Regions from separate parts of the Homo sapiens genome. Here all the other regions are linked to region 7. The links are contacts of gene promoters, found by promoter capture Hi-C in blood cells and fetal thymus (Javierre and others, 2016). All regions are on one chromosome and are shown on one strand. The core of a region is centred on a gene start or on the middle of the fragment in contact, and the rest is flanking DNA. Distances in the headings are between cores, read along the strand shown.

Region 1 (2,700 bases), core at 118-2,617, 570 kb after region 7:
AGAAGAGATCTTCTACAGACTGCTATATAATTTATTTTACTGAAGTATAATTTAATAAATTGAATGACTACAAATTACTTAACAAACCTGCTATGATTGAACAATTTGCTCTGCTTTTCAGTTACTGTCCCCTCACAATGCATGAAAGACTTTGTGTAGCAGAGCCTTACGGTTAATTTTTGACCTAATTATTTCCTTGGGAAAGCTTCCTAGAAGCAGAATTGCTAGATCAAAGAAAATGCACACGTTTAAGACTTTTGAGATACACTGAAAAACCTGAGTTTCAGACAGTGTAGAGTTATTTGCATTTCTTCTAAAAGTGAATAAGATTGCCCATTTCTCCTAGTGCCATGAAGGCATTCACATTATTTTCCATGTGATATGGGCAAATGTTATTTTTCATATTTTAGTTTCCATAATTTTTGTTCAGGTCAAATATTTATATGTTTATTTGAATTCATCTTTGGAGAAACTTCTCTTTAAAGTCTTTACCGATTTGTCCATTGTGTTTTTATATTTTTATTGATTTGAAAGAGCCCTTTACATGTTAAAGACAATAACCTCTTAGCCAGTTTATTTCTCTCTAAATTCTTTTCATGATGGCTTTGATAACAAAATAATTTTTGGTTCAATTAATCTAAACCACTTTTCTTTGTGATTTCTGCCTTTGATGTCATTCATAAATAGACCTTTCCTAATTAGCCTGTATTTTCATCTACTACTTTCATACTTTTATTTTTGAAAGTTAAATCTTAGCATATTTACTATCTAATTTGGTATAACACATAAGCTAGATTCTATGTTCTTTTTTCCCCCAAATGTTTAAGCCAATTGATTCAATGGCATTTACTAAATAATCTTTATTCTTTCTCAGGAATTTGAACTCACACCTTTTTCATCTGCTAGGTTTACATTATGTGCTTGTCTATTTTCTGGATTTTAATTCTATCTATTTCTGTGCTGGTTTCATAGTGGTTAAATTATTTTAACTTCATCTTCTATTTCTATTTGTAACTCAAATTTATTACTCTTCCTTTTGTACTATTTTCAATCATTTTTCTTTGAGATAAAGTTTTGTTTTTCTTTATTTTCAATTTCCAAAACAAGTCATTTAAAAATTTTAAAGCTGTGTTCAAATTATAGATATACTTGGGATGGACTGAGAACATTAAATTATCTTCTCAAGCAAAATTTCCATTTATTCTGATTTTCCCACTCCTCAGTAAATGTTCATATATATATATATATATATATATATATATAAACAATATTGACAGTAAATGTTAACATATATGTGAGCATAAAAATATATGACCTGCCTATTTTCTGTCAATATTGTTTCAAGATTTTTTATGCTTCTAATATGAATGGAATCCTTCTTCCATTATACTTTTCAATCGCATATTACTGATATATAGAAAATGTATTCTTTTGTACTTGTTATATTTTTGTGTTTGTTTTATAATTTTCCCTTTATTGAAATTTTCATCAGTTATAATTGACTTTATATTATTTTTAGTTTTTATGCAAATGATATCATCTGCAAAAAATGTGATTTTTTTTCATCTATTAAATATTTTATCTTGTTCATTTCCCTTGTCTGATCACAAGGGACTAAAATCCCAAACCCATGTTAAGTAATAATAGTAACAGGAGATATTTATAACTTGTTCTTAATTTTAGTGGCTATTCCTCATACAGTTCACTTTCAAGCATGAAGTTGACTCGATTTGAGATATTTATGCTATGAAGGAAGCATCCTTTCATTCCTATTTTATCAAGAACTTTTAACCAAAATAAATGGCTGAGTTTTATCAAAATATTTTTTGTGGGGTGGGATGGTAATGTCTATCAGGCTAATTCCATTACTGTTCATCTGTGACTTTTATTTCTTTTGGCTTCATGTTTAAATGTTCCTGTCTTCATAAAATGCAACCTATGTAATCATGGCATTTTTTTCTTTTCATGAACTCTAAACCCATGTGATAACATTTTATTTAGAATTTTTCTTATCTTTTTTACATTTAAATCTTTAATCCATTTGGAATTTGCTGTAAGATATGAAGTACCCTTTTTTTTTTTACAAAAATATTTAGCCAATTGTCCACACACTAGTTATCAAAAGCCAAATTTCCAAAATACCACATTTATCATGGAATAATGTGATTTGATTGTCTCAGTCAGCTCAGGGTGCCATAACAAAATACCATAGACTGGGTGGCTCCATAGACTGGGTGGCTTAAACCACAGAAATGTACTTTCTCCCAGTTCTGCAGGCTGGAAGTCTGAGGTCAGGATGCTACCATGGTCGGGTTCTGGTGGGGGCTCCTCTTGGCTTGCAGATGGTTACTTTCCCTCTGCGTCCTCATATGGGAGAAGAGACTGAGAGACTGAGAGATCTCTGTCTTCCTCTTCTTGTAAGGACATGGATCCTATTGGATTAGGGCCCCACCCTTATGATCTCATTTTACCTTAATTACATCCTAAAGACTCTCTCTCCAGATATAGTCACTGGGGGCTAAAGCTTCAACATATACATTCTCGGAGGACACAGTTCAGCCCCTAGCAATGATGTGCCTGGATACAACGTACAGAGAATTGAGTTAAGCAAACCCTTCAGTACATGACACGCTATTATCACCAGCCTGTGTAAGGGGACTCTGATTTCTCTTTTTTCTTACTTTTCATCCCAATTCCCAG
Region 2 (2,700 bases), core at 185-2,684, 780 kb after region 7:
CATTGTCTACAACAGTGCTTCCCAAATGAAATATAATGCCAGCCACCTATGTAATTAAAAAATTTTCTAGTAGCCACATTTAAAAAGTGAAAAGAAACAGGAGAGATTAATTTTAATAATATATTTTATTTGGTCTGTTATATCTATTGTTCTTTCAACATATAAATAATATGTAAAATTATTAGTGAGATATTTTACATCCTTTTCTTCTTGCACTTAGTCTTTGAATCCAGTGGGTCTTTGATACTTTCTGCACATTCTGTTTGAATAAGTCACATTTCAAGTGCTCAAGACTACATGTGGCTAATGTGTTGGGCAGTTCCGTTCTAGAGGCCAGGAGAGGGGCAGGGTTTGCCTAGTATCCTGAGGGCCAAGTGAGGCTCGAGTGAATGGACAGGCTTTTGTGAAAAATTCCCCTAGAGGAAAAGGTAAGATTGGTGGTAGTTCAAAGGAAACACAGGATGGAGCAGGGTTGGGTTTGCTTTTATTTTCAGGATGGGAAAGACTTAAGCTTATTTATAGGCTGAAGAGAGGAAGCCACTGGCCAGGGTAGCTTGAGAAGAAAAGAGGAGTGGTATCTCTGAGGGTGTGAGATCCCTAAAAGGGGATGAGGAAAGGAACAAAGACAAGGTGAAGAAGGGAGAGGTTTTGGTCCATCGGGGCCCAGAGAGTGGCTGGGGAAACCTGCCCCTGCAAGAACAGCTGCTCCCAGCAGCTGCTTCAGCGCAAGTAGGTGGCCCTCTCTGAGTTACAGGGACCAACTGCTCCCAGATGGACCAGGAGGGAGAGGAAGCCAGAAGATTCAGAAAACCACACGCTGCAAAGAGAGGACACAGAATCAAGAAAGGGGGGTGAGAGGAGAGGCTAGACATCCTCTAGTGCTAACTCTGCCTGTGCATTATATTTATCCGGAGTGTTTAATAGAAAGGTAGATTTCAGTGCTCCACCCAACCTATTGATCCATATCTGCACGTTTCGGGTCTGGGGAAACCTGTATGTTTGTCAGCCTGTGCAGATGATGCAGGTGGCTCGTCATTTGTCCTTTGGGAACCCTGCTGGAGTTACTCCTTCCTCTATCAGTGAGGAAATGGAAGCCCAGAGGGTTCCGGATCAGTGAAGAAACAGTCTGAGGCATGACCTCAGCCTCCAGAATCCCAGTCTCCCTGCATTCTCTCCATCCACAGCAGTGCAAGGGTGACCTGTGACTTGAAGGTGGCCAGTGGTGCATGCTTTGGGTTCAGAGGGAATGAGGATGAACAAACAGGCTGCCAACTTGGAATGGTTCACAGAGCAGATCAACCTGACCTCAGAGCCACAGGAGAGCCCAGTGCAACTGCTCAGGCCACACCCAGCTCCACTTGTGTGGGGGTTCCAGTTCCCACTAGACATTCAGATCTGTGGGGACGCAGACCAGAGTCAGGACAGAGTGGGTTCTCCAAAACTCTCCCTGGTCTGGGGTCGATTTCTGTGCCCACTTCGGCCCACTGTTTCAGAACATTGCTTGTTGACGCACTCCAGCCAACTAGGAAATGTACCAAAATTATCATCTCCATTGGGGGAAGTTTAAACCAGTTAAGTGTAGAGTATTAAGTGAGTTAACTGAAAGCTGGTTATTACAACCCAATGCAAAAAAAAAAAAAACAAAAAAAAATAGTTTTTGAAAGGGGAGCTATATATTGTCATGATTATATACAAAAAAGCTATATTAGAGCTACATATTGTCATGAGTTTATAAAGTTATGTTGAATTACAAAATGGAAAAATCCATGGAAAAGGGATGAATAACACCAAGCTAACTTCTTCATCTTTCATGAGGGGGACAATTTGGAAAATGTTATGTCAGATATTAATTAATTGATTAAACTTAATTGGGTAATTAATTAAAACTTAAGGAAATCAGAAGTAGAGACAATAATTAAATAAACCTTTCACAATCATTATAGCAAGAGGCCAAGAACAAACAAATGGCAAGGAATCATCAAAATAAAAAGCATAAAAAGAGCTAAGTAAAAATAAATATGATCTATAACACTGATTTCAACTATCTGAGCTTCTTTTCTTTTTTTAAAATGGAGTTTCACTCTTGTTGCCCAGGCTAGAGTGCAGTGGCACAATCTCGGCTCACCACAACCTCTGCCTCCCAGGTTTAAGTGATTCTCCTGCCTCAGCCTCCTGAGTAGCTGGGATTACAGGCGTGTGCCACCACTCCCGGCTAATTTTGTATTTTTAGTAGAGACAGGGTTTCTCTATGTTGGTCAGGCTGGTCTCGAACTCCTGACCTCAGGTGATCCACCCACCTCGGCCTCCCAAAGTGCTGGGATTACAGGCGTGAGCCACTGCGCCCGGCCTTAAGCTTCTCTTCTTAAAAAAATTGCCAAATTTGCTTTCAGGGACCTAACTGCATATCGTTTGCATGAGATTAACAAAACAAACAAAAAACGCAAAATAAAAGGAACTGATTGTAAATAAGTGATGCTAGAATAATTCTCTATTCATTTAGAAAAAAAAAATCTACCTAGATTCTTACATCATATCAAACACCAAAAATAAACTACAGATAATACAGTAAATTTGAGGGAAAAAAGATAAATCATTTACAAATTAGAAGTATATATAGTCACAGACTTAATAGTTATCTGAATGTGGAAGTAACTTTCACATTAAAAAAGAAAAGATCAGTAAACTTGATTACATAAAGAT
Region 3 (3,035 bases), core at 383-2,882, 620 kb after region 7:
ACCTCGTGATCCACACGCCTCGGCCTCCCAAAGTGCTGGGATTACGGCCACACACGTATATAATTTTAACTTGAAACATGCTTCACAGAGGTGATTGAATTGTGCTGGAGAAGGACTGATTTGGCCAGATGGTCAAAGCGTCTCTTGGAGGTCTCATGAGAATATCTGGAAAAGCTTTCTGGGTAAAGAATCAGCAAATGTCAAAGTGTTGAGACTGAATAGTGTTTGGCACGTTTGAAAGATGCAGAAAGAAGACCAGTGGTCATGGGGATAAGGAGAAAAATGAGGAGAGATTAAAAGGCCATTTGAAAGTTTAAGTAAAAGAATAATGTTCATTTTTCAAAGCTCACTCTGGTTGCTCTGTGAGGGCTACATGGTGAAGGAATGGAGTGGAAGCAAATAGGCTGGTTAGGAGGCTGTTGGGTTGGTGTGGATGGAAGATGATGGTAGTTGTGACCGGGCTTATCAGCGAGCATGATGAGGATCGGCAGAATTCTGGTTGTATCTTTTATTTTTGAGATGGAACGATTAGGATTTGATGATGAATTAAATATCGGGTCTGAGGTCAAGGGAGGAACCAGAGATAAATACTATGGCAAAATAGAAGAACCCCTGCCCTCCCTACTCCTCTTCTCATAACGGAAAAATTGACACAAGATATTGGAAATTCACTGAGTGTGGTGACTCATGCCTGTAATCTCAGCTACTTGGGAGGCTGAGGTGGGAGGATCAATTGAGGCCATGAGTTTGAGATCAGCCTGAGCAATACAGCGAGACCTTATCACTAAAAAGAAAAAGAAAATAGGCATCAGAAATTCACCATAGCAGCCAAATAAATGTCCCACTCCAGTGCAATGCAAAACATGTCCAATTTAACGAAAATCAATAATGAACTTTTCTATAAGAAAACCATCTAGCCAATTGACAAATATTTTTGAATATATATATATACACACACACATACATATACATATACATATATATATATATATATATATATATATATATAAAGATTATTAAGGATAGTTAAAGGATTCCCCTCAGATCCCAACAGTGGAATGTAAATGAATCAATATAATCAAAAGGAAATTTGAAATTTTATTTTTGGTAGCTTTCATAATATACCTTTTCTTCACCAATTCTATGTCTTGGAAAATATTGTAAGGAAATAACCAAATATGGAATTAGACTTACGTTCAAAAACATTAACTATAATGATAATGAAGGGAAATTAGAAATAATGTAAATATCCAATGATAGAAAATGACTAAATATATTACGGTACAGCCATTTATGCTGTCATTAAAATCATATTTTGGAATCTTTTTTGTCACTATCAAGTCATCATGATGTAAATAAAATGGAGTTCAAAAGCATGATAAAAAATGCTACATGGATAATGGATAAACATGTATGAATGCAAATAACAGAAAGTAGAAAGTTAAAAGGTTAATAATGGTTTTCTCAGAGAGGTCAGATGATAGATTATTATTTCCAAAATCTCAACAATGAACATGTATTACTTATATAATCAATAAAATTATACAACTTTTGCAAGCCCTAAGAAGTCCATAGAACTTTCTGGGATCCAATATGTGCCCCTTTGTGTCAAGATATGACAGTTGCGACCAGACCTGGAAATTTTTATGGACCCCCGAAGATAATTCTGCTTGTTGCCTGATTTTACCTCTCTGAACTTAGTGATGTTGGCAGGGTTCCTCTAGGAGTCGCTTAAAGTCATTTTGGGTTTGGATTTTTTTCTTATTTGCCTTACCTTATAGATTATCTTAGTTCAGGCTGCTATAACAAGTTGCCATAGACTGGGTTGCTTAAACAACAAACGTTATTTCTTACAGTTCTAGAGGCTGAGGAGTCCAAGATCAAGGTGCTGGCAGATCTGGTGTCTGGTGAGCATCCTCTTCCTGATTTGCAGATGATGCCATCTCATTGGATTCTCATATGGCGGAAAGAGGGCAAGAGAGACAGCCCTCTTGGGTCCCTTTTCTAAGAGCACTAATCCCACTCATGGGGGCTCTGCCCTTGTGACCTAATTATCTCTTAAAGCCCCACCTACAAATATCTTCACATCGGAAGTTAGGATTTCAACATATGAATTTGGGGAAGCATAGATATTCAGTCCTCAAAACATATTGCTTGGCCTTTCCCTTCATCTGGTCCTGGCTGCACAAAATTGTGCTGAAATTTCTTGACATTGGAGGCATGTTTTCTTCTGCTGTTAAAATACTTCCTCCTTGCAATGCTCCTTTCATGATTTAAGTAGTAATGTGTGAAAGGTGGAGTCAATTCGCTGTGTACAGATCATTTCGCACACAGGCTTTTAGTGGCCTAGCCTCTCTGGCTCCCACTTTGCCAGATTTTCTCACATTCCAGGAGGAAAAAGACAGAAGAGGAGCCTTCTAGGTCACAGAGCCTGAAGAACAGCAGAGCATCATTTCAGGGAGATCGAACACACTTGTTTTTACCATTCTCTCTTCTGTTATCTCACCAAACCAAGGCACCCTTTTCTCAAAATGTGGGAAATGAATGAAACCAAATATGCACTAACAAACTTCTGTGAGCTGATCGTATTTAGCCAAGCACAAAAGCACATGTACAGATGATTAATTGGTGCCCAAACTCAAAATGGAGACCAAATTTTCAACCCATTCTGGGTGCAAAGTCTGACTTAAAGATTCGTGCATATGAGATCAGCAAGTTTTTTCCAAAAATAATCATGTCCACAGATTCCTATCATCATTGTATTGATTCTCAAATTTTATTTAATTTAATTTTATTAAAGTCCTTAATGAAAAACTTTTCTTGCACAATCATTATATCTCTTATGGCTCTTGGGTGGCTTTGAAGGAAAAATAATACTATGAAAAGATGGTTGCTGAAGGGTAATTTAATCAGCATTCTCATAAATTATAGAACTTTTCTGTCTCCTTTGCATAGAGGGAAAAGTCTTAGGGCAGAAAGAGTGTCTTCCATATTTTAATTTGATTTCCAGGCCTAATTATATTTTGCTTAAACTC
Region 4 (2,884 bases), core at 7-2,506, 940 kb before region 7:
ACTCATGTAAACAAATATCAACTGTATTATTACTGAGAACGAAATTTAAATAGAATGTTAATCGACCCAAGCTTTACTTACCCCAAAGGTTTGAGGCAGCTGTACTGCTTAATGTTTAGGTTGTTTAAATCTGTGGGAGGAAAAAAACAAACTTGACTTTATTTAAGGAAACTCTCAAAAGGTGTTTGTAGGGGAGGGTGGCGCATAAGAGTCTTATTCAAGGAAAGAATTGGAGTAAAAGTGCTCTAAGGCCAGGCGCGGTGGCTCACCTCTGTAATCCCAACACTTTGGGAGGCCGAGGCGGGCAGATCACGAAGTCAAGAGATCGAGACCAGCCTGGCTAACACGGTGAAACCTCGTCTCTCCTAAAAATAGAAAAAATTAGCCAGGCGTGGTGGCATGTGCCTGTAGTCCCAGCTACTCGGGAGGCTGAGGCAGGAGAATCGCTTGAACTTGGGAGGCGGAGATCGCGCCACTGCACTCCAGCCTGGGCGACAGAGCGAGACTCCGTCTCAAAAAAAAAACAAAAAACAAACCAAAAAAACGCTCTAAAGACTTCCAAAGCTAATATTCCAAAGAGGGAACTGGTTCTCAAGAGCAAGAAGCTACAAGATTTGTCCTCTGGGCCTTCAAAAGCAAAATAGTTCAAGTATGAATACAAACTTCATAAAGTATGTATGTTCTTTTAGGGTAAGCCTTTCAGATTTGTACTTGAATACTGCTAATTTATTCACCACAAATAAAACCACAAAGAACTTTGGCTGCGGGCGACTAACCCTGGAAATAACCAACCAGAATGGGGTTTCGCTGCCCTGGGAGGTGAGCCCGGGGAACAGACGAAGATGCAGACTGAAAACAACTGCGTTTTCCAGTCCGTCCTCAAGGCACATCACAGCTTGCTTACCAAGGTTCTGGCAGATTTGCTCCCTTCCGAAGCACCTTATACCTCCAGAAGTGAGGGAAATTATGGGCCGTGAGAAGTAAACGGGCTTCGGTCTAGCAAAGAGTACAGATCACCGCACAGGGGGAGGACACCTCGCTGGCCACCCAGCTCGGCCGCCCCGCTCCCTCCTCCCGGGCGTCCGGGGCGACTCACCCGCCAAGGGCTATGTCAATCCAGCTCAGGCCGAACCCCGCCGGCGAGACACTGAGAAGCCCAGGAGAGGTGGCCTCTGGTCCACTACACCGTGGAACTCCAGACCACTCCAGTTCTCCAATGTAACCGAGCGCCTTCCTCTAAAATCCGACAACCACCTGACTTCCGCTTCCGGCGGGCTAAAGTTGAGGGTGCCTGTCAAGTCTCGCGATAACTAAGGCTCTCCGTGTGGATCGCTTTGCAACAGATCGCTTCTTCAAATGCTGGCACAACGCCCAGAGCTCGATGAGGTGTGGGCAAGTAGCTGTCTAAAGGTGGATGATGCCCTCCATGCACTTTCAGCCTGCCTGGTGGCTGGGCAGTCGAAAACGTCGCCGTCTATTAAGCTCCTTTGATTGGGAGCAGGTGACGGGTAGAGACGGAAGTTCTGGGAATCACCGGAGAAGGGAGGGAAGGGCTCCTTCCGGCCGCCTGCTCCCGGAGTCTTCGTGGGGAACGTGAGGTGAGAGCAGGCGGTGAAGAGTAGACACGACTGATGACTTCAGGGATGCTACACCTTTCTCTCCTGCCTGGGCAAGCCTCGGTAGTAAGATTTCCGTAGTCCGTTTTGTATGTGGTTTTGCAGAAACATACCCCCTCTCTGCTCCAGCTTCAGTCGTCAGTATCCAGCTACTTCCAAGAGTCTTGCCCATGTCTTGTGGGATGTTCAGCAAATGTATAAACACTTAATATCCCGACAAAGCTTGGCCTCTTCCCTCCCAAATTACTTCCCAGGCTATGCACCCGTTTTTGTTAATACAACCAACTTGGAAACTTTGATGTCAGATTTGATGCCCTTTCTTGCCTTTCCATGCTCCAATCACTTGCCAAGTCCTGTCGATTGTACCCCTACAGTAATTCTTGCATCTTCTTACCCACTGCCCCCACCTAATCAACGTTCTCATTACCATCCCCTGCACGGTGTCAGTGCAGTACCTTTCTCATTGATGTCCTGCCTCTAGCATCACTCTGCTACTAGCCTATCTTACATATACCTGCTATAGGTGTAGCCATCTTCAAGCACCACCGTGATCCAAAATAGCTGATCCAATGGCTCTCTGTTGCCTGTAGATTAAAGGTCAAGTTTATTAACTTGGATTCAAAACTTTTTTTATTTTCTGCTGTTCCCCTTCCATTCTCCCTCAGTCAGTGGTAAACCAGACCCTGTGAAGTACGTCATGCATAAATTATTACATTTTTATAGATTGCTCATGTCCCTTGCATGAAATACCTGTCTCTCCCCCTCATCTCCAAATGTTGAAATTCTTTCCATTATTTAAAGCTTTAGAAAGTGACATCTCTACCTAGAAATAATTTTTCTTTCTATTGAGAGTCCATCATATTTCTGGAATTTCATGTATTTAGTTATTACCACTTTCTAACTTCGAACTAAAATTATTTACTTGCAAGTCTTTCCCCCTATTAAACTGTAAACAGGCCTTTATCTAATGCATTTCTACATTCTGGAGTGTATAACATTGTGCTTTTTTTGTTTGTTTGTTTGTTTGTTTCTTTGACACAGGGTCTCATTCTGTTGCCCAGGCTGGAGTGCAGTGACGTGGTCATGGCATACTGCAGCCTCGACTTCCTGGGCTCAGGCGATCCTCTCAGCTCAGCCTCCGGAGAGCTGGGACTACAGGTGCACACCACCACCCTGCTAATTTTTTGTATTTTTTGTAGAGATGGAATTTTGCAGTATTGCCCAGTCTGGTCTCGAACTCTGGGCTCAAGCAGTCCACCCACCTCAGC
Region 5 (2,842 bases), core at 146-2,645, 640 kb after region 7:
ACGTGCACAGAATGATTGAAAGAAAAATTAGAGAAAAAAAAGATTACACAGTCTATTAGGAAAGGAATACCAAAATAAATTTGCTAAGTCAGAGATATAACTAGTTAATGTTTTGCATCTCCATTAGACAAAAATCTACAAGTTAACACGTGACTTCAGAGTCTTGGCTTTAATTAACAGAAAGTAGTTAATCAACAAGAGTCCATCTTTTAAAAAATGAAATAATGCTTGATGGGCCTGATAGATGCTGGTCTGGTATATGATATTGAAAGCACGAGCAATCTTCTTTTGCTTTATTTCTACATTTTGGATAATTTTTAAACAATAGCATTTGTTGTAATCTATCATGTGCCATTGCTATGATGTGGTGTCCAACAGTATGATCTGACTAGAATTGCAAAGATTAATTGATTATTTTCCCAGGTACAATACTTATCATTGGTTTTGTGGCTAACCCTGCAAGCTTCTTGGTAGTGGAATAACTTGTAGTTCTTTTTGCTGTGAGAAGTAGAACTCTAAAAGGTGCCTCCCTAGTTTATTTTTTCCATCTTTTCATCCTCCTCCTCCTCCTTTTTCTTTTTTTTTAAACAAACTTTTTATTTTGGAGTAGATTTACATTTACAGAAAAATTAAGGAACTAGTACAGAGAGATCCTGTGTACCCCACACAGTTTCCTCTGTTAGTAACATCTTATATTAATATGGTATATTTGTCACAATTAATGAACCAATATAGATACATTGTCATTAACCAAAGTCCATACTTCATTTAGATTGCTTTAGTTTATACCTAATGTCCTTTTTCTCTCCCAAGATCTTATTCAGGATACCATACTACATTTAATTGTCCTGTTTCCTTCGACTCCTCTTGGCCTTGAAAGTCTCTGAGTTTCCTCGGTTTTGATTACCTTGACACTTTTGAGGAGTGTTGGTCAGGTATTTTTGTAGAATATTCATCAATTTGTATTTGTCTAATGTTTTTCTCATTAGACTGGGATTATGGGGTAGGAGAGGAGGATCACAGGTACAGTGCCATTTTCATGATATCAAGGATACATACCATCAACATGACTGGTCATTGTTGATGTTGACCTTGGTCACCTGGCTGAGGTAGTTTGCCAGTCTTCTCCACTGTAAAGTTACTCTTCTCCCTCTATTTTCCACACTGTACTCTTTGGAAGGAAGTCAGTATATGCAGCCCACACGTAAGGAATGCGAATCATGCTCACTTTTCTTGAATGCAAATTATCTGTATTAGTCAGGGTTCTATAGAGAATCGGAACCAATAGGATGTATGTGTGTGTATATGTGGAGAGAAGGATTTATTATAAGGAATTGGCTCATGCAATTCTGGAGGCCAGGAAGTCAAAAATCTGCAGTGTGGGTTGTCAGGCTCAAGACTCAGGTAAGCCAAGAATATAGATGAAGTCCAAAGGCAGTCCACTGAAGAATTCCTTCCTGCTTGGGGAGGGCAGTCTTTTGGTTTGATTCATGGTTCGACTAATTGGATGAGACCCACCCATATAATGGAGGACAATCTGCTTTACTCAAAGTGCACCCATTTAAATGCTAATCACATCTGAAAACATCCTCCAAGTTAGCACACAAAATTAACCCTCACAGTATCTGCATAAATTATTTGAAATTCTTCTGCACTGGAGATTTGGCTATTCTTCTCCATTTATTTATTTATGCAGTCATTTTGTTTATATCAGTGTAGACCCATCAATATTTATTTTATATATTGGGTTATAATTCAGTACCACTTTGTTTATTTTGTTGCACAGCTTGTTCTGCCTTTGGCCATTGGGAGCTTTCTGTCAGTTCCTGTATCCTTGGCATAGGCCCATCAGTGTCAGTTTTTCTGTGCATTTCCTTATTACTAGCATTGCAAGATGTTTCTCCTCCATCCTTAGAATCATCCATTGCTCCAAGGAGCCCTCATTCCTTCTATCAGAGAATGGTATTAGAAACCAGGATCTGAGTTCTAACTTTACTTGCTACTACTTGGGTGTCATTTATTACCTCTAGTTCCTCTCAGCTGACAAAATAGAGAAATACATGTATACACGTATCTATATAACCCATGTACAGATACATCTATAAATATTCATGTACTATTTATATATTAAGCTAAATATGAGTTTATACAGATGTCTCCCACTCTAATCAATTACCCATGGATTATTCTAGCCTCCTCCCTTTGCTCGTCTGTAACTTCCCACTCCAACAGTGAGGAGCCTGGCTCCCACCCTCCATTACACTTCACTACCTCTTCATTTTTTACACTAAAATACATCAACTTTAGGGTGAAAATTACCAAGCTTATTTTAGAAAAACTCATTTGGCTCACCAAAGAGATGCTATACCTTATTTTTCACAAACCCTTGAAAGATTTCACAATGCCATTTTGAAAAACTTTGTAACAGAACACAATGGGACTGGTGGGTGAATGGATCAATGTTTATCAATACAATCTAATTTTCAGATGCTCATTCTTTTATTTCTTTAGTTCTTCTAAAAGAATGAAGACAACAATGTGACAGCATTTCAGCTGGTGACATCATTTCTCTTGTATCTTCATTTCTCTCAGCATATACAGATCAACCTCTGTCTTCACAGGTGCTCTATTTATTATTTACATCTAGTGTATTTTTCTGATTTGTAGTATATTCATTAAATTTTTAATCACTAACCACCTGCTTCAATGAGTCATTTTTGATATGCTTTCTTGTAAATTGGTATTATAACACTTCACGTCTTATTGTTTTTGTTTTGTTTTGTTTTGTTTTGTTTTGAGACGGAGTTTCTCTCTGTTGCCCAGGCTAGAGTGCAGTGGTGCG
Region 6 (2,700 bases), core at 165-2,664, 590 kb after region 7:
ATGAAAGAGCTTAGAAAACCTATTTAAAGAAATAATCAATGCAAGCATCCCACGTCTATCGATAGTCACACATCCACATATAAGAAGCCCAGTAATCCCCAGAAAAATATATTACAAAAAGGACTTCACCACTGCATGTTATATTCAGAATGTCTAAAGTTGAATTAAAATAAGTAATTTTAAAATTAGCAAGAGAAAAATGTCTAGTCACCTATTCAAAAAAAAAAAAAAAAAAAACCCCACCCCATCAGGCTAACAGTGGACTTTTCAGCAGAACCTCACAGGTAAGGAGAGAATACAATAGTATTTTCAAAGCACTGAAAGAAAAGGACTGCCAGCCAAGGATTTTATATCCTCCCAAAATAAGCTTCATAAATAAAGGAGAAATACAGTTGTTTCCTGACAAGCAAACACTGAGGGAATTTCTCATCACTAGCCTGGCCCTAAAGGAAATGCTCAAAGGGGTCATAAACATGGAAATGAAAGGTTGATATTCACCATCATGAAAACACACGAAAATATAAAACTCATAGTTCTTATAAAACAAGGAGGAAAAGAAAGGAATCAAATGGCAACAGAACAGAGTTTCATCAAACCACAAAGACAAAAAAAGAAAACGAAACAAAGAATTTTTAAAACCAAGTTGAAAACAACAATGTGACAGGAACAAAGCTTCACATATTAATATTAACCTTTAATGTAAATGAATTAAATGCTCCACTAAAAAAATACAGATTGGCTAAATGAATTTTTTGAACGATCCAGCTATATGCTACATACAAGAAACTCACCTTACCTTTAAAGGCACATAGATGGAAAAAAAAAAACTCAGAGGTGGAGAAAGATATTCTATGCAAATGAAAACCAAAACTGAGCAGGAGTCACTATACTTACTAGATAAAAGAGACTTTAAATCAAAAACAGTTTTTTTAAACAGACAAAAAGGTCATTATATAATGATAAAGGAATCAATTCAGCAAGAGCAAATAACAATCCTAAATATATATGCACCCAACATTGAAGCACCCAAATTCACAAAGCAAATATTATTAGACCTAAGTAATGAGATAAACAGCAATACAATGATAGTGAGTGACTTAAACACCCTATTCACAGCACTAGACACATCATCAAGACAGAAAACTAATTTTGAAAATTGGACTTTAGACCAAATGAACCTAATAGACATTTAGAGAACATTCTTCCCAACAGCTACAGAATATTCTTTTCACTAGCACATTGAACATTCTCTAAGATAGACTGCATCTTATAGGCCACAATGCAGGTCTTAACAAATGTTTAAAAACTGAAATAATATCAAGTAACTTCTCAGACCACAGTGGAATAAAGCTAGTAATCAATGCCAAGAAGAACTTCAGAAACTATACAAATATCTGGAAATTAAACAGCATGCTCCTGAACAATGACTGGGTCAATGAAGAAATTAATGTGAAAATTTAAAGATTTTTTTGAGATGAATAAAAATGAAAATACAACATACCTAACCCTGTAGGATATAGCCAAGGGAGTGCAAAGAGAGAAATTTATAGCATTAGATGCCTACATCAAAAAATTAGAAAGATTACAAATTAACAGCCCAACATTACACCTCAAGAAATAGATTAAAAAGAACACACCAAACCCAAAGTTAGCAAAAGAAAAGAAATAACAATGATGAGAGTGTAACTAAATAAAAGAGACCCCCTCAAAAATACAAAGGATGAACAAAACAAAAAGTTGGTTCTTTGAAAAGATAAGCAATATTGAGAAACCACTAGCTAGATTAACCAAGAATAGAGATGATCCAAACAAACAAAATCACATATGAAAAAGGAGACATCCCAACCGATACTATAAAAATACAAAAATAATCAGAGATTATTATGTACAATTATAGGCTCACAAACTAGAAAACCCAGAGGAAGCAGATAAACTCATGGAAACACACAACCTACTGAGATTGAATGAGGAAAAAACACAGCCCCTGAACAAACTAAAATCAGTAGCAAGATGGAATTGTGTCTGGAGTTGGTTCCTTCCAGTGGGTTCATGATCTGGCTGACTTCAAGAATGGAGGCAGACCTTCACGGTGTTACAGCTCACAGACCCAAGAGCAGTAGCAAGGTTTATTGTGAAGAGCGAAAGAACAAAGCTTCCACAGCATGGAACCGGACCTGAGTGGTTTGCCGCTGGCTGGCTGGGATGGCCAGCTCCATTCCCTTATTTGTCCCCTCCCATGTCCTGTTTCTGTCCTATCAGAATGCCCTTTTCTCAATCCTCCCCGCGATTGGCTTCTTTTAGACTCCTGCTGATTGGTGCATTTTACAGCGTGCTGATTGGTCCATTTTACAGAGTACTGATTGGTGCATTTTACAGAGTGCTGATTGGTGCATTTTACAAACCTCTTGCTAGCTACAGAGCACTGATTGGTGCGTTTTTACAGAGCGCTGATTGGTGCATTTTACAAACTTCTTGCTAGCTACAGAGTGCTGATTGGTGCATTTTACAAACCCCTTGTAAGACAGAAAAGTTCTCCAAGTCCCCACTCCACGGAGGAAGTCCAGCTGGCTTCACTTCTCACAATCACAAATTAAAAAATCTTCCAATAAGTAAAAGCCTGAGACCCGATGCATTCACAGCTGAATTCTATCAAACACACAAACAAGAACTAATACTTATCCCCTTGAAACTAGCCCAAAA
Region 7 (2,931 bases), core at 117-2,616:
GATGCGCGCGGAGAGGACCAGCGCGCACCGCCCCGGCCCGCCCCTCAAATCCTCCTTCCTTCTCTCTCGCACTCGGAGACGGTCCCTGGGAGATCCGGGAGGGGGCGCAGCTCGCCGTCCTCGCCGGCAAGTGCCGTCGCAACCTCCCTCTGCCGCCACCCCCACCCCGAGAAGCGCACAAAGAGCGGCCGGGCAGGGAGCGCTCACCTCCCGTCGGGGCGGGGCCGCGGGCGGGGCCGGCGCGCGCTCCGCAGCGCCCGCCTTAAAGGGCCCGCCCGCTCCTCGCGCGCACTGCGCATGCTCGGCCGCGGGGCACGGAGGGGAGGGATGGGAACAGCGGGCGCGCACGCCCGCGCCGCCCGCTGGCGCTGTGGCCTGCGTCCCCGCGGTGGCGGCGCGGCGCTCGTGCGCGTGTCAGAACCCGCAGGGTCTCGGCCCGGGCGCCGGGCGTGTGCTGGACACTGGTGCCATGCATTCCAGAGGTCGCCAGCGGCCGGGCGGGCCGAGCTCGCGCGGCAGCCAGCTTTTAGCTTTCCCATCCTCAGTTTCAGGGCCAGTTGGGCGAAGTGCTGCCCAAGGAGACAGAAATGCAGGCGCGGGCGCGCGCGCGCGCGGTTGCCAGTGTGGGCGGGCGTGTGCTTTTGTGTCTCGTGCGCTCCCGCGCAGGTGGACAACCCGCGCCGGGAGTCACTCTGCCCGTGCGCCCCAAGACCTGGAGTCCCGTTTTCCGTGTCGGAGGGCTCGGGTCGCCCTTTTGGGCGGACTACAGACTCTTCTCACAGAGGAAGCTTTGGCTCCACGGATGGTTTATTTGGAGCCACTAACGGGACTTCCTGAGGACCGCTCTTTTAGAGCCCGGCTCCAGGCATCAGAGTTGGGCGCGTTTTCTTTTCTCAGTCAGGCGAGGGAGGAGACTTAGGGACAATGATTGTCCTCGGCTGATAGGTACATCCAAGTGTCCCGAGCCTGCCAGTCCCGCATTAGACAACAAAGAGAGGCGTTAGCGGCGGCGGGGGAGGGGCGCGGCCGGGAGGAGGACGGGGCGGGCTGCGGCGAGCGCGGGGGTGGGGGGTGGCGCTCTCTCTCCGCTCGCTCAACCCGCGGCCTCCTCCCGCCCCCGGCCTGGCGCGCGCCAATCGCCTCCCCCAGCGATAGTGTCAGTAGCATTGTGGTGTCAGCTCCCGCCTGTGACGTTGCGCCTCCCTCGTCCCCCTCCGGAGTCGTCTGGCTGCAGAGGCTCAGTCAAGAGGCGGGGAGGAGAGGAGGAAAAAGCGCTGAGTGAGGGCGGGCGGGCGGGCGGGAGGGAGGGAGTGGAGGAGCCGGGGAGGGGCTCCTTAAAGAAACGCTTCTGTCGCTCGCCTGCTCGCTTTTCGCTCGGCATTGCGGCCAGCCAGCCGGGCACTCGGGGGGCACGCGCGGCCACCGCTAGAGCTCTGCCCCCACCCCACCCGCCAGCAGGTCTGGGGTGGGGACCCAGGTGGGGGCTCCTGCAGCCACTGCCCGGTGCGGACCGCACGGAGCGACCCACTCCTCCCAGCACCGAGGAAGAAGCAACGGAGCCCTCAGCAGGCGACCGGCCTCCCCGCCCCTGACCACCCGCTTCCCGGCTGCCTTTGTGGCCGCAGCTTCTCGCCGCCGAGCCGAGGGCCGGCGGGGGCGCGGCGCGCACGGCCGAGCGATGCCCAGCTCGCTGTTCGCAGACCTGGAGCGCAACGGCAGCGGCGGCGGCGGCGGCGGCAGCAGCGGAGGGGGAGAGACCCTGGATGACCAAAGAGCCCTGCAGCTCGCGCTCGACCAGCTCTCCCTGCTGGGGCTGGACAGTGACGAGGGCGCCTCTCTGTACGACAGCGAGCCGCGCAAGAAGAGCGTGAACATGACCGAGTGCGTGCCAGTACCCAGTTCTGAGCATGTCGCCGAGATCGTGGGGCGGCAAGGTAGGTCGAGGAGGGATGGGGAGGTGGGTGGGGGTGGTGTAGGGTCTCAGGCCACTGCCTCGAGGGGAAGGCGTGTTCAGTATCGGGATCCGCGGCGTGGGGTGCCTTGGGGAGAGAGGAAGAGCCGCGCGATGGGCCGGCGCCCCAGACAAAGAAAGTGCAGGCAGGCTGTCTCCCGGAGCCGCGCCGCTGCCCTGGCGGGATGCACTTTCTTCTGCTAAAATCACTGCCTTCTCCCCTAACGCCCCCCAACCAGCCCACCTCCAGAAAGACAATTTAAATGTAAGATGCTTGGGGGAGGGGGCCTTTGATCAGTCCTTTGGGAGGAGGAAGGAGGAGGAGTGAGCATAGGATGGGAGGAGGATTCTGGATTTCTGCAAAGCGGAATGGAGCCCAGAGGAGGAACAATGGGTCCCGGGACTCACACCCCACCCCCTACCCCCAGTCGACCAGCGCTGAGGCATCGCGACTTCAGCTGCCTTCCCCGAGCCCCTTCCCCGTGTCTTCAGAGCTGACGGCGCGCCCAGCTGGATCCCAGCGGCATCTCCCCAGATGACTTTTCTGGGATTCTCGGGTTTGGTTCGGGACGACTGCAGTCACTGGGGGAGGGCCAGGCAGCCAATGGGCTGTTCCTCGAGCGCCTCGCGGGTGGGATCCGCTGCCCAGCCCGTGGCGCGGCCCGAGGTCAGTGAGGGAGACGCCCCCTTTCCGCCCATCTCTTGTCCTGCCGTCTCGCTGTCCTGGACGCGGGCTGTCCCCGGTCCCCGCGGTTACCCCAGGATAATGGGCGTGTCTGTCTCTCTCTCCCACTCCCTCCTCCGCACCCTGGTTCGTAGGTTGTAAAATCAAAGCGCTGCGGGCGAAGACCAATACTTACATCAAGACCCCAGTTCGCGGGGAGGAGCCTGTCTTTGTTGTGACGGGCAGGAAGGAGGATGTGGCCATGGCTCGGAGGGAGATCATCTCTGCTGCCGAGCACTTCTCCATGATCCGCGCC

Evidence for each region. The method cuts DNA at HindIII sites, captures the fragments that hold promoters and counts their contacts. A CHiCAGO score of 5 or more calls a contact.
Region 1: a contact is called between a fragment that was not itself captured here and the fragment with the promoter of MEX3B in region 7, in 9 of 17 cell types (megakaryocytes, M2 macrophages, M1 macrophages and 6 more). The highest score is 14.8, in megakaryocytes.
Region 2: a fragment that was not itself captured here is called in contact with the fragment with the promoter of MEX3B in region 7 in 1 of 17 cell types (fetal thymus); the score reaches 5.1 in fetal thymus.
Region 3: a fragment that was not itself captured here is called in contact with the fragment with the promoter of MEX3B in region 7 in 3 of 17 cell types (fetal thymus, megakaryocytes and M2 macrophages); the score reaches 8.7 in fetal thymus.
Region 4: the fragment with the promoter of RAMAC here is called in contact with the fragment with the promoter of MEX3B in region 7 in 1 of 17 cell types (activated CD4 T cells); the score reaches 6.4 in activated CD4 T cells.
Region 5: a contact is called between a fragment that was not itself captured here and the fragment with the promoter of MEX3B in region 7, in 6 of 17 cell types (fetal thymus, megakaryocytes, M1 macrophages and 3 more). The highest score is 13.2, in fetal thymus.
Region 6: a contact is called between a fragment that was not itself captured here and the fragment with the promoter of MEX3B in region 7, in 1 of 17 cell types (megakaryocytes). The highest score is 7.3, in megakaryocytes.

Annotation. Positions count from the first base shown.
Region 1 is chr15:81,475,230-81,477,929 of GRCh38, reverse strand. No RefSeq gene overlaps it. Among named protein-coding and RNA genes, the nearest start is that of TMC3, 100 kb to the right of the region's middle. The HindIII fragment of the contact is 2,319 bases long and covers 208-2,526 here.
Region 2 is chr15:81,262,298-81,264,997 of GRCh38, reverse strand. The region is part of intron 3 of IL16 (interleukin 16); the gene reads right to left. Among named protein-coding and RNA genes, the nearest start is that of STARD5, 60 kb to the left of the region's middle. The HindIII fragment of the contact is 1,842 bases long and covers 514-2,355 here.
Region 3 is chr15:81,422,145-81,425,179 of GRCh38, reverse strand. The region is part of intron 6 of TMC3-AS1 (TMC3 antisense RNA 1); the gene reads right to left. Among named protein-coding and RNA genes, the nearest start is that of TMC3, 49 kb to the right of the region's middle. The HindIII fragment of the contact is 2,911 bases long and covers 177-3,035 here.
Region 4 is chr15:82,984,582-82,987,465 of GRCh38, reverse strand. It overlaps RAMAC (RNA guanine-7 methyltransferase activating subunit), which reads right to left and starts at 1,256. Exons shown (of 4, transcript NM_031452.4): 1 at 1,097-1,256; 2 at 82-130. It also overlaps a transcript of HOMER2 not described here. The HindIII fragment of the contact is 1,767 bases long and covers 74-1,840 here.
Region 5 is chr15:81,403,894-81,406,735 of GRCh38, reverse strand. The region is part of intron 6 of TMC3-AS1 (TMC3 antisense RNA 1); the gene reads right to left. Among named protein-coding and RNA genes, the nearest start is that of TMC3, 31 kb to the right of the region's middle. The HindIII fragment of the contact is 1,860 bases long and covers 466-2,325 here.
Region 6 is chr15:81,456,701-81,459,400 of GRCh38, reverse strand. No RefSeq gene overlaps it. Among named protein-coding and RNA genes, the nearest start is that of TMC3, 84 kb to the right of the region's middle. The HindIII fragment of the contact is 1,480 bases long and covers 675-2,154 here.
Region 7 is chr15:82,044,453-82,047,383 of GRCh38, reverse strand. MEX3B (mex-3 RNA binding family member B) reads left to right here and starts at 1,366. Exons shown (of 2, transcript NM_032246.6): 1 at 1,366-1,934; 2 at 2,771-2,931. The coding sequence starts at 1,679. RefSeq lists silencers at 117-436, 1,287-1,586 and an enhancer at 117-1,063. The HindIII fragment of the contact is 3,768 bases long and covers 791-2,931 here.